2 separate regions of the Homo sapiens genome follow, and region 1 is linked to region 2. The links are contacts of gene promoters, found by promoter capture Hi-C in blood cells and fetal thymus (Javierre and others, 2016). All regions are on one chromosome and are shown on one strand. Each heading gives the region's core, a stretch centred on a gene start or on the middle of the fragment in contact. The rest is flanking DNA. Distances are from core to core; before and after follow the strand shown. Region 1 holds the start of IQSEC3-AS3 (IQSEC3 antisense RNA 3). Region 2 overlaps IQSEC3 (IQ motif and Sec7 domain ArfGEF 3).

Evidence for each region. The method cuts DNA at HindIII sites, captures the fragments that hold promoters and counts their contacts. A CHiCAGO score of 5 or more calls a contact.
Region 1: the fragment with the promoter of IQSEC3-AS3 here is called in contact with a fragment that was not itself captured in region 2 in 4 of 17 cell types (M1 macrophages, megakaryocytes, M0 macrophages and 1 more); the score reaches 9.2 in M1 macrophages.

The regions. Positions count from the first base shown.
Region 1 is chr12:147,066-153,444 of GRCh38, reverse strand. It overlaps IQSEC3-AS3 (IQSEC3 antisense RNA 3), which reads left to right and starts at 4,276. Exons shown (of 10, transcript NR_033859.2): 1 at 4,276-4,366. All of the region lies in intron 5 of IQSEC3 (IQ motif and Sec7 domain ArfGEF 3), which reads right to left. RefSeq lists an enhancer at 1-409. The HindIII fragment of the contact is 4,344 bases long and covers 856-5,199 here.
Region 2 is chr12:76,538-82,984 of GRCh38, reverse strand. All of the region lies in intron 1 of IQSEC3 (IQ motif and Sec7 domain ArfGEF 3), which reads right to left. Among named protein-coding and RNA genes, the nearest start is that of IQSEC3, 13 kb to the right of the region's middle. The HindIII fragment of the contact is 152 bases long and covers 2,306-2,457 here.

The DNA of each region.
Region 1 (6,379 bases), core at 3,027-5,526, 69 kb before region 2:
TGACCTCTCAGGACTGGCACCCGGAGGCACGGGCCATCTCTGAAGCACTGCAGACGCTCCCAACGGCAGGGGGCAGACGACCCGCAGCAGCACTCCTGGCTGGCTGGTGGCTTCATCCCCACCCTCCTCTAGGGGGAATCACTGATCACTGTTTGCGTTCCTGATGGGGCCTGTGTCATCCTGGGGAAGGTGGCTGGGGGTGGGACTGTGCTGTCTACCATAAGCCCTGCTCATTCCAGGGTCCGTGTCCCCCTGGAAGCACCTATAAGCCTCGGCCCTCTACAGCATGAGCCTCCTCTGTTCACTCCCTGAGCATAAGCTTCTGCTTGCACCGTGCCCTCTTTTGCTCCCTCCCCTTCTCTCACTCTCTGTCCTGCTGCTTCTCTTATTTTGCAGTGTCTACCAGCACTCCTAATTCCCACTTTCCAGCCTTCTTTGCTGCCCTGGAATCCTCTTGGGGAGCTGAGTGTGGGCAGTTTACCAAATCCATGCTGCAGCCTCCACCCAGGGTGGCCTGGAGTCATCTCTCCTCATTGGTCATCTTTAAGGTAAAGAGCACCACACATTCCCGGGTGGTCTTTTCTGGTGTATCATCTCCCCATTTTACAGAAGACAAAACTAATGCCACGTAGGGCTGGCCCCATGCTCCCACAGCTAGGGAGAGCAGGCTTTCAGCTTCCTAATCTTGTGAGGCCTCTCCCTGCCCCACTGGGCTCTCTTCTCTTCACTCCTGTGTGTGTGTGGGGTGGCAGGGAGGTCCCTTACTCAAGTCGGGGGAGTTCCCTCTGAGCTCTCTGTACTGAGTATGGCTCTAAGTGCTTCACTATGTGTGCAATGACCTCATCTTCTCAAGCTTGTGCAATATGAACCATTGTACCATTATGTTTTTATTACATATGAGACTGAAGTACACTAGACAGCCAGCCCTACAGGCGTGCTGCACACATCTCATTCCTTGCTGACATCTCCTGGGGCAGGTGGTCCCCTGTGCCCTCCTCTCCCTCACCTCTCCCTGGCTCTCTGCTGCTCAGTGGCTGGCACTAATGCATGTCTTCCTAGGGGCTGTGATCTTACCCAGATGGCTTGGTGGGGACCTGTGAGAGGCCAAGGAGAAGCCCGTGGACACAGTTACACAGGAGAGCCTCTTGGTGCATGCGTGGGCAGTCAGCACGGGGGCTCTGTGGTCACCCTGCAGGTTCAGAGCTGGCCTGGGCACCTGGAGCCCACAGCAGGGTCCATATCGCTGACCTCCTGCCTTCCCCTTTCTGGTGCTTTTTGTGCCCTGTGGCAGTGGCTGGTTGACTCTTTCAGCAACGAGCACTGAGTGGCCCCGTGTGCAAGGCTGTGCTCGGGACCTGGTGTAAGTGGCCAGCAACACAGTCTCTGTCTTGGTGGGAGAGACAGGCATTGAACACAGAGTCAAAAATAATTCTTTACCTATAGTCATGATGAGTTCTATGTAGGGAAACGACGGTTCCAGGAGAGGACAAAGGAGATATATTTTATATTGTATGTCTGGAAAGGACTCTTTGGGGACATGGCATTTGAGCTGAGGCCTGAAAGATGAGTAGGAGGTGGCCAAAGGAAGGAGAGAGGGGAGAGCTGTCAGGTGGGCTAAGGGAGGAAGCATATGCAAAGGCTCACGGCAGGGAGGAGCTTCAAGGACCTAGGCAGGGTCCGCAAGGTTGCAGTGCAGACAGTAACAGGGAGAATGGTGACTGTGGGGCAGCAGCCAGGGCTCAGTCTGTCAGCTTTGTGGGTCATGAGAAGGATTTGGGAGTTTATCCTGAATGCACTGGGACACAATAGAGGGTATGATCAGAGGAGCGACAGGGTCCTGTTTGTTCTAAGAAGATTTCCCTGGCTGTTGGAGAGAAAATGAATGGCAGAGGGGCAGGGAAGAAGACAGAAGCAGGGGCCCAGTTAGGATGCTACTGCAGAGGTCCAAGCTACAGATAATGGGGCTTGGGCTAAGGCAGGAGCAGTGGAAACAAACTGAATGAATGATCCAGCTGCATCTTAGAGGAAGAACAGATGGGACTCGAGGTGCAGGGAATGTGGGAAGTGAGGAAAGGGAGGCATCACTGGTGCATCCTGGAGCTCTGGCTGGAGCACCCAGGGGCCTGGAGGTACCGTTCTCTAGTGTGAGTGTATCATGGTGCAGACACACGCTGGAGGAGAGACGGAGTCTCCATCTTGGGGCACACGAAGTCTGAGGTGTTCTTTCAGATAGCTACCGTGCCTCCCCTCTACTGAATCATCTCAGGAGAACCCAGGGGCCTGGAGGTACCATTCTCTAGTGTGAGTGTATCATGGTGCAGACACACGCTGGAGGAGAGACGGAGTCTCCATCTTGGGGCACACGAAGTTTGAGGTGTTCTTTCAGATAGCTACCGTGCCTCCCCTCTACTGAATCATCTCAGGAGCACCCAGGGGCCTGGAGGTACCGTTCTCTAGTGTGAGTGTATCATGGTGCAGACACATGCTGGAGAGACGGAGTCTCCATCTTGGGGCACACGAAGTTTGAGGTGTTCTTTCAGATAGCTACCACGCCTCCCCTCTACTGAATCATCCTCAGGAGCACCCAAGTGCTTGTCTTTTTCATCTTACAAATCAGAACCCTGCCTTGAGCCCTCGTTGCTCTCTAGACACTGCCTCTCTTCTCTCCTCTTTGCTGCCTCCACTTCCTCTTCTCCATTCACTCTTCAACCTGCTCCACTCAAGCATCCAACCCCAGGCACCATTAACACTTCTCTTGTCACGGCCATTGCTGGTTGCTATGTGGCCAAATCCAACGGCCTATCTCTGTCCTCATCCCAGCCCCTTGGCAGCATCGACATGGTTAATTGCTCCCTTCTGGAAACACCGTCTTCTTGGCTTCCATCACCCTCCCTCCCCAGGTGGACTCTTTCCTCTGGAGGAGCCCCTCATCCATTGCAGCTGCCCCTCCTCACTGACCTGAAACTGGGCCCTATCCCCCTCTCAACAACCACTGTCCAGGTGGCTGCCCCCATGCTAGTGGCTGCCCCCATTCCAGTGGCTCTAGCTAGCTAACAGTCTAACTTGCTTGAGTAAATATTTGACAATGTCTAGTTTGATAGATTCTTCAGATGAAATGTCCCTGAATCCAGCATCTCCCTGCCTCTGAAATGGAAAATCTGTACGTGTTTATTTGGTAGATGGAGTACCAACACAGGGGGCCTGAAGCACACGCGTATTCTGAATTCTCATCAGCTCGGAGACCACTGGCTGTGCGCTGGCTGCCTGGCTCCCTCCCACGTGGGCCATGGCCCTGCTGCTTCTCCACGGCCCTGGGCTCTGCCAACTTCTCCCCTCCCCATGCCCACAGCCGCAGTTTAGGGCTTCATCCTTTCTCATCATGGCTGTTAACAGCAGTAGCCTTCTCACCAGTCTCCCTGCCTCCAAACCATCTTCAGAGCCATCCTTCTAGGCTGCTAACTTGGCATCATAGCTCATGTCCCTGCTCACATTTCTCCCAGGGCTCCCCACATCCCTAGTGTGAAACCCAAGTTTCTCAGCAAAGCAAAGACGCCCTGTCTGCTTCCAGCTTCTCTCGCCGCTTCCCCAGCATGGTCCCCCCCTGCAGCCTGGCTCTCACGCCCCCACTTTGGTGCATGCTGTTATTTCTTCCTGCTGCCCAGCCCCAACCCTGCAGGTCTCTGTTTAGCTCTCATCCTCTCTAGGAGTCTTCCCTGACCTCCGTTGTCCCCGGAACCCACCTTCTGTCGACCATTGCGTTTATCTCCCTGTGTCATAACATTTGCCTGCCTGTCTTCCCCACGAGGCTACGGGCTCCTTCAAGATAGGGCAGTTATTTTAATCTCTGCCTCCCTGGTGTATGGGCACCCAATCACTGTTTTGTGGGATGAATGAATGAGTGAGTGAGAGATGACCAGGAATGACTGCATGCCGGCAGCTGGAGAAGGAGCCTCAGTGGCCTGTGCCTTTGGAAGTTCTACCCAACGGCCCAGGATTACTCAGCCTGCTTTGCTGCCAAGATTATCTGGAGCTGACACCGAGACCTGTGATGGACTTGCAAATGGCCCCGAGGCTTCCAGACTCCAGGCAGTGAGGCAGTGTGGAGGGCATAGGCCCCCTTCCTCCCACTGCACATGCAAGTGAGTGAGTGCTGAGAACTAGAGCAATGGGCACCGATTAGACCGCTTCCAGCCAGGCATGACCGGACCTGTCTCAGGAGGTGCTGCTGACGGGCGCGTGGATCACGAGTGGTACCGGTTTTGCTAAGGCCTCCCCCTCTTTCCTGTGAGCTTCTGCAAGGTCTGCAGCAAATACCTCACAAGCGTTGGGGAAAAAGGATGTATGTTCCCTGCCTCTGAAGAAACAGGTACAATCTTGCATAAAATTGCTTGTTAACATTGATCTGTGCGTGGAATCAGTTTGTGTTGCAGGGAAATGAAGCGTCCTACACGCCTGTGATCAAAATGAATTTCATCATCTCAACCTTCTTTTTTTTTTTTAATGATAGCAAGACAGTGTCTGGCAGACAAAGGAACTGGTTGGGAGCTGAAAATAGGTAATGGTAGCAGCAGGGATTTTTAATTGGCTGGAAGAGACGGCGAAGATCTGGAAGGTGAAGCCCTAGCTCGTGCTCCTGGCTGAGACTAAGCCCAGGTTTCAGGATTAGGAAGGAAATCTAAACCACCTATTGCCACGGAATGTAGAAACCCTGGCTTTATTTGGCAGTTGTTGGCTTCTACAATTCAATTAAAAATATCCCCATCCTCCAGAGAGTTATTTTATTCGTCAGAATTCATAACATGCTCAACAAAGGTCAAGGCGTTTTGGCAAAGTGCGATGCGGCTAAGAAAATAGAAGAGAAGGAAGCTGATGCAGGATCTGCCAGTGTTCCTGGTGATGTCATGAGGACGAAGAAACTCTCTTTTGAGGGGGCCTGGGTAGGGCTGGCTGCCACTCACACCTTGAGACTCAGGTACCCAAAGAACTAAGTTCAAACTACCCTTACAATTTAGAAGCCCTGAGCTGATTTTTCTTTTGCTGGGCTCGGCAGCATCCCTGTTTGCTGGTGGGTCTCAAACTGAGTGATGCATTGGAATTGCGTGGCGGGTTTATTAGTGCACGGATTGCTGGGCCCCGAGCCGCAGAGTCTGATTCAGTGGGCCTGGAGCGGGAACTGAGAGTTTGCATTGCTAACAAGCTTCCAGGTGAAGCTGACGCTGCTGGTCCAGGGACCACCTTTTGGAAGCACTGCTCTATGCCAATAACAGTGGGTGGATTAAGAAAAGGCCGTGGAGCTGTTACTTCAAGTCATGGAGCCTCTTGGTGGCTCATTTCCTCACCTTGAGAATGGAGACAACACTGAGAACATCTACTGGGCAGGGGTGTTATGAGTGTTAAAGGAGGCAGTGGGTGTGAAGTTCCTGGTATACAACAGGGCTTAATACATGATCATTTTCATTAGGTGTGGGCTGACCCGCCTGTCAGTGGACAGGACCCCTCCCTGCCCCACCGACTAATTCTGCCTGGAATTGTATCATTAGACAGCCATCCGTCGGCCCTTTAAGATATACATGCACCAGAGAGAGGAAGCTAAATCTGGCTCAGACCTCTTGAGACTTACGAATCAGTTTCTCAGCTGTGCTTTCTTCCCAAATTGAGAGGATCGGGGCATAGCAAATAACGCCAAGGTAAGAGGTGGGAGAGTACCTGATTTTGTTCAATTTCTCTGCCGCTGGCCAGGAGACTAGTCATTTCTTTTCCCCAGGGCCTCAGTTTCTGCCAGGGTAAAATGAGAGGGCTGGACCAGCTGATTGTCTAAGGGGTCTTCAGTGTCATGATTCATGATGGGGGACTGACAAGGACTGTGAGAGCAACCGGACCACAGGGGTCCTGGAATGACGCACGGAGGCTGGATGGTGCAGGGTTAAGGGCTCAGGTGATGAGTCATTGTGCCTGGCTTCAGACCTCAGCCACTGATCAGCTCTGTGACTGTGGGCAAGCTCCCCAACCTCTCTGTTCCTCAGTGCCTTCATTGGGTACAGATTAGCAGCACGTCCCTCCCGGAGTCGCTGTGAAGATGGAACGAGGTTTTGCATGTAAGCCTCTCAGAACAGCACCTGTGGCACACAGCACATGCTGATCTGTGTGAGCTGGCATAATATTTCACGGCCTGCTTGGTCACAAACGGCCCTCCTGGAGATATGACAGCCCTGCCCTGGAGACAGTGACACCCCGGAAGACCCTTCTAGAAGGCCCACGTCCGAGTGGCCTGTTGCAGCCACAGCTATCACACAGAGGAGACTGACTCCTCCAGAGCAAAGGCCTGAGTAGTCAGGGGAGGACTGGGTGGCAGGTAGGTCCATTTTTATATAAAAGTCCA
Region 2 (6,447 bases), core at 1,132-3,631:
GAGAGCCTCACTGCAAGCATTTGTGGCTGTCTTCTTTCCCCTATCCCCTGCTGAACAACAGTCTCCAGTGCTGAGGCTGGGCCACGTGGATTTGGAAAAAACTTCTCCTGGAGATTTGGATGCATGTTACTGTAGTTGTCTGCGGGGTGGCCATGGAGAGTAGAGGCTAGGAGCACTGCCTGCCAGGGTCACACTGGCTGAGTGTGAATCTGCACAAGCAACCTCACGTTGCTTGGAATACAGAATGGAGCCTAGCTCGGGAAGGTGTTATTAGGACACATCGAGAGAAAGTTTGTAAAGTGCTTAACACCGTGCCTCACTCATAGTAAGTGCATGGTCAATGTCAGCTTTCATTAAATGATGACTTTCCTCCAGGAGTGATGTAGTCATTCTCAGTTTCCCTACAGGAGTTAGGACAGGGCCTTTGCTGCGGTGGACGGTCAGCATGTGTAGTTAGCTGACATGCTGCTGAAACAAACATGCTATGACTTCTCCCATCTTAAAGAACAATCCTTTGTCTTGAACCCGCTTCGTCCCTTCAGCGGTCACCCCATTTCTTTGCTTCTCTTTATAGCAAAACTCATCAGAACTTTCTACAATTCCTCCCATTCTGGCATCTTTTACACATTTTATTAGGGAAATGTCAAACATATATTTTGCCAGTCTTCTACTTCCCAACTTTTTTGCTACAGTGTTATAAAGCAAGCCCCAGAAATATCATTTCACCCACAATGTATCCCTCTAATAGGTAAGAACTTTAAAAAGATATGAGTACCATAATCATACCTAACTAAATTAACAATTTTCTAACATCACCTAATACTTCATCTACGTTCAAATTCCCCGACTGTCTTAAAAATGTCTAGTTCCAATGGCTTTGTCTAAATCAAGCCGGATCAAAGGTCCACATGTTCTATTTGGTTGATTTGTCTCTAAAGTCTCTCCTCCCTTCTCTCTCAAACCCACTAATCAAGCCTCCAAATCCACTCCCAAGACTATGCTTTTCAAGGTCACCAATTACCTGAATGTTGCTAAAGCTAATGGACAGTTCTCAGTCTGCATCCTCCACGTTTCAGCAGCCTTTGAAACGCTCTTTGCCAGAACACTAGGTGCTTCTCCTGGCTGTTCTCCTCCCTCTGGGTGCTCCTTCTCAGCTCCCATGCCCACCTTTTAGTGTTGTGTGCATTGCAAATCTGCCCTAGGCCTCTTTCATCTTCTGTTCTCACTCCTTGGTGGCGTGGCCCAGTCTCAAGGCTTTAAAAGCATCCCAAAGTTATACCTCCAGCCCATTCCAAATGCCTACTGCACATCTCCTCTCAAACATCTAAGAGCTGTCTCAAACGCCATCCGTCAAATGCTCAAACCTCCTCATCCCCCATGGACTTCTCCATCCCATCCTTCTAATAACTTTGGCCCCAAACCTTGAGCTCATCCTCAACTCCTCTTTGTCTCACATCCCACACTGATCCCTCAGGAAGTACTGTTGTCTTGGCTGCAGATCATACTTTCATTGCTACTACCCTGGTCCAAGCTACTAGCATCTCTTACCTGGGCTGTGTAACAACCTTCTACCTGAACTCCCTGCTTCTGCCTTTCTTCCCTCTTCAGTCTATTCTCAAACCAGCATCCAAAGTTCCTTTTAAGCACCCTCTGCTCAAAGTCATCCACTGGTTCCTAGTTTTTCTGAAGGTAAAAGCCAAACACTTCCTAACGGACTCCAATGCCCTCAACAACAAGAAACAGGGGCATTTCTGGCAGGAAAATTCTTCACTGTGTGGTCTGTCCCACACACTGCAGGATGTTTGACATGGCCCTTACCCACTGCATGCCACAGAACAACAACCTTCCTCATCCAAGCCCCATCAGCATTTGTGACAACTAAAATGTGCCCACACATTCCAAATGCTCCCTGGTGGACCTGGAAATCCCAGTTGAGAATCTCTTACAAGATCTGCTACGCGCCTGCACCCTCCTACCCTCCCATGCCCCAACAATCTCTCTGACTTGGCCTCAGGCGCCTCTCCCTGTGCTCTCGGCCCTTGTCTTACTTGAACAACCTGGCAGGGTCCCACCCTTGGCCTCTATGCTAGCTGTTTGTCCTGCCAGGAATGCCCGTCCCCAGACAGCCACAGAACTCCCTCCCTCCCCTCCTCCAGGACTTTGCTCAGGTGCTGTCTCCCCAGGGCACCCAGTTTGAAAGTGCAGATTCCTTTATTCCGGGTCTCTTCTCTGCTTTTTCTCCAGGGCTCTTATCCCATCAGATGCACTATAAGTTTTCATTAGTGATCTTGTTTGTCTGTAAGCTTCATAAAGGAATTTGGGAGTTTTTTTGTTCACTGCTATACCCCAGGGCCTAGAATAGTAACTGGCACACAGCAGATAATAAATATTTGTTAAGTGAAAGGAAGAATACAGATGCCAGGAAAATATATACTTACAGAAAGAAGAAAACAAGCTTTTCTAAGCCACAAGAATAAAGAACTAATTTTGTTCTTAGCAAGGACTGGTGTGTGCTCAGCCTGGGGTGAAAAGTAAGGAGTGAGGCTATAAGAACATCTATTTATTTATCAGATCGGTTCAGGAAGGCTTCCTGAAACTGCTGGGGTTGTAGGACTCACCTTCAGCTGGTTTAGAGCCAGATGCTAACACCCTGATGGCTCCCCCAAACTTGATAACTGCTGACAACAAAGGGAGCCCCGGGGAGCAAAAGTGAACCAAGCTGGAGTTTTCAGACGGAGAAGCACTTGCCGAATCGTATTTCTGCTGCAACTGACCCATGTCTGCAGGAGGCTGCAGCAGCACGTCAGCCAGAGAGGCAAGTTCAAATGCAGCTGCTCAATCATACCTGCTTCCTCCCCTCTCTGGCCCTCAGAAAGCCCACCTTAAATAATTACTTGCCTTCCAAAACTCTCAGCAGACAGCAGAAAGGACCTAGCTTCACAGCCATACAGTGGAATATTTTGCGGCTATTAAAAAAGAACGCGGCAGCTCTTTTTATATTTAATAAGGAAAGATCACTAAGATACATTATTAGGGAACAAAACTCAAGGTGCAGAACAGCATATAGGATACTAGTATCTCTGTAAAAAGAAATAAACATTTTGCTTAAATGTACATATAGCTGGAAAGACGTGAGAAATAATAGTGGTTGCTGGAAGGTGTGGGGGCGGGCAGGAATTCGAGTGGTTAGGAAACAAGGATGGGGGCGATGCTTTTCACTGTAAACTCTTTTCTTTTGAATCTTGTACTAGGTCAATGTATTGTCTATTTGAAAAGAGTAAATCAAGCTACTCTGGAGGCTGAATTGGGAAGATTGCTTGAGGCCAGGAGTTCGAGACCAGCCTGGGCAACATAGGGAGGCCTCCGTCTCTACAAAAACAAAGAAAATTAGTCAGGTGTCGTGATGCATGCCTGTAGTCCTAGCTACCTGGGAGGCTGAGGTGGGAGGATCACTTGAGCGCAGGAGTTCGAGGCTGCAGAGAGCAATGATTGTGCCACTGTACTCCAGCCTGGGTGACAGAGTCACCATCTCTTAAAGAAAGGAAAAGGTGAATTACATTAAAAGCAAATTACATTAGCAATTTTGTGTGTATGTTAAAAGCCACCTGTACAAGTACAGGTGGCCAGAAGCCAGAGTCCTTCAAGTGAAAGAGCCCTGAGGCTTTAGCTGACCTCATGTGTGATAGGTCCCATCTGTGGCTGGGGCTGAGAAAGCCAGTGGGTCCCTAGCCACCATCCAAAGCTAGGCGGGGGGTGAGGGAGGGCCTCCCTGTGCCCAAAGCTGGTCTGGCCACAGCCCCTGCGCTGCAGGGCTCACTCCCAGCTCCCTCTGTGTTCTCGGAGAGCAGTAACCCAGGTGAGGCAGGGCCACCCGCAGAACCATGAGGAGCAGGAAGTGCCAGGATCAGGTATGTTCTCCTGAAAGTAGATGGCGGAGGGGTGTCAGTGGACTGGAAGGCAAGGGAAGGGAAGGATGGCTATCTGCCTTCAAATATTTGAAAGGGTGTGAAGTCAAACAGGGAAGGAGTCCTGTTCAGAGCCCCTTAGAAGATGCCGGGGTCAGGGTGGGGGGTGGTGAGGCCTCTCACCTTCAAAGAGCACCTTCTGCCACTGGAAGGGTCCCAAAGTGACAGCAACCACCCCGCGTCGAGCCCTCACTGCGTGCCAGGCACTCGGCTTGCCTGACGCTTTACTGGCATCACCCCTGAATTTTCCCAGCAATCCCAGGAGGGTGGTACCATTCGTATTCCTTATTTTACGAACGGGAAACGCGAGGCTCTCATTGCTTGAGATCACACAGCTAGTGAACGACTGAGTCGAGATTCAAACCCAGGGCCCTGCTCAGAACTATTATGCCGCACCGTAGGCTGAGGAGACCTACAGCCCTGGGAATTCTAAGACTGTGATGCGATAAAACACAAACATAAACATGAGAAGGCCAAGATAAGGCTGGGAGTTTTAAATTTATTTTTTTTTTTTGCTGAGGTGTCTTGGGTACAAGGAAGACAGGAAAGGTGGATGCTGAGTAGAATTTGTACCTCGGTGTCACCGTCCTCATCCCCGACCCCTCCTAGCCGCCCCCGCCTCAATGTCCCCTTCTTCTCCAAGGCAATCTACTCGCACCATCACACTAGCCCCGGCTGCGGCCCGTGGAGGCCGAGGAGGGGCGCGCACCCAGCACCCAGCACCCGGCCCGAAGGCCGCGGCCCCGATGCTCCCCGGGCTGGCGGCGGGCGGTGCCGCAGCGCCGAAGCCCCTTCCGAGCCCCCTCGGGCCGGGAACGCGGGAGGAGGCGGCGCCCTGCGCCGGGAGGCCCCAGACACCGTGGGCGGGCGGCTGTGCGCGGGGGTTGGGGCGCGGGGAGGCGGGGGCGCCCGGGCCGCGCTTCCCTTCGCGGGTGACTCAGCAGCCGCCTTCCTCAGCGGGGCGGCGGGGGCGCGCGGAGGCTGTGGGCACGCGGCTTCCCCGCGCCGGGGTGCAGGTCCTCGCCGCCGCCCCCGCGAGGAAGTGCGAGGCTGGACGCTGGGAGGGGGCGCGTGGGCCGGGAGATTCCTTCTCGCCTGCCGGCTGCCAGCCGGCCCGCCCACGCCGCCGAGATCCCGACTCCACGTTCCCTCCCCACGTAGGAGTCGGGGCAGCGCACGGAGGCGGAAAGGCTTTCCCCAGGCTGGCCCGGCGAGGGTCGGGGGCGCAGGGACTGAGGGGACACCCCAGGGGGGCCAGCTGCACCCCCGCCCTCCCCTCCTGCTGCTCCCGGGTTTTACGCACTCACGGTCGGAGGGAGCCGGCTGGAGATTTCTGGGGTCTTAGATGTGGAAGTCCGTGCAGAATTTACCTCGTTCTGCCCCAGGGCCCCCGGGTACCTGCCACCTTTTGTTCTTGAAAGGGAGAGATGCCCCTCTGCTGAGCCAGCTGGAGCGTCCTTTCTGTGGCTCTTGCCGTGTAGAAGTCTTTTTTCGTATCTAAGCTCGGTCCCTCCTGCTGCGGTGACCCCCAGACAGCTCTGCTTCGCCAGACTCGGCGACTGGGTAGAGTGGGCAAGAAGGAGGACCAAGAACGTCCCCACTGAGCAGGAGGGGAAATCAAGGCCCAGAGAAGGGGAGGGGCTTCCTTCAAGCTTATAGCTGGGGGTGTGTGAGAGAGGTGCTGACCTCAGTACTCAGGAGTTCCGGCTTCTAGGTCAGAGTCCAGCTGCTTGAAAAGATAATATTCCTCCCTGGTGCTGCCCAGCGCAGTGCCTCTACCTGTCTCTGGAAATCCCTTTGGCCTTCTCTGATGGGTTCTTACCATGCGTTAAGTCGCATCAAGACTGTCGGAGATGCCAGATGATGCCGGTTCGGAAGCATCCAGGGTAAAGACCGGGCTGTGCGCGGGAAACACGGAGGCTAGACCCAAGCAGGAAATTCCCACCCGCTTTGCAGAGTTTTTGTAGCTGCTGTTTTTAAATAATCATTGGTTGATTTGATGCATTGAATGAAAATTGTGGTAGATAGGAATCATTCATCAAGGAAGAAATTGTGGAACTCCCTTGTCTCTCTGCCTGGGATGGGGCGTGCATTCCTGATTGGAGGCAGGTGGTTGGCTGGTTTGACCTGGTGCATCCAAAGCCCTGAGAGGTCATTGGTACCAGGCCCTGGCCACAGCTAGGCCGAGATATCCTGCAGGGAAAATCACACTACAGCTTTGTGTGTGTCTGGCCGCCCCGTACCTGAGCTTCCAGACACTATACCTCCGTAGAGTTCAGTGGCACAGCTCCTGTACCTGTCCCCTTCCACACAGCCTTCTTCCCAGGAGCTCACGCCTCTGGGGCCTGGTCTCCCGCATGCTCCAGACAGAGTGGGTATGGAGGCGTGGTAGATTTGCCCCATTTTACAGAGGGGAAGAACCAGGAGGATCTGGCTAGCCAATGGAGATGAAACACTTCATGCAGAGAAAGGAAAAGGAACT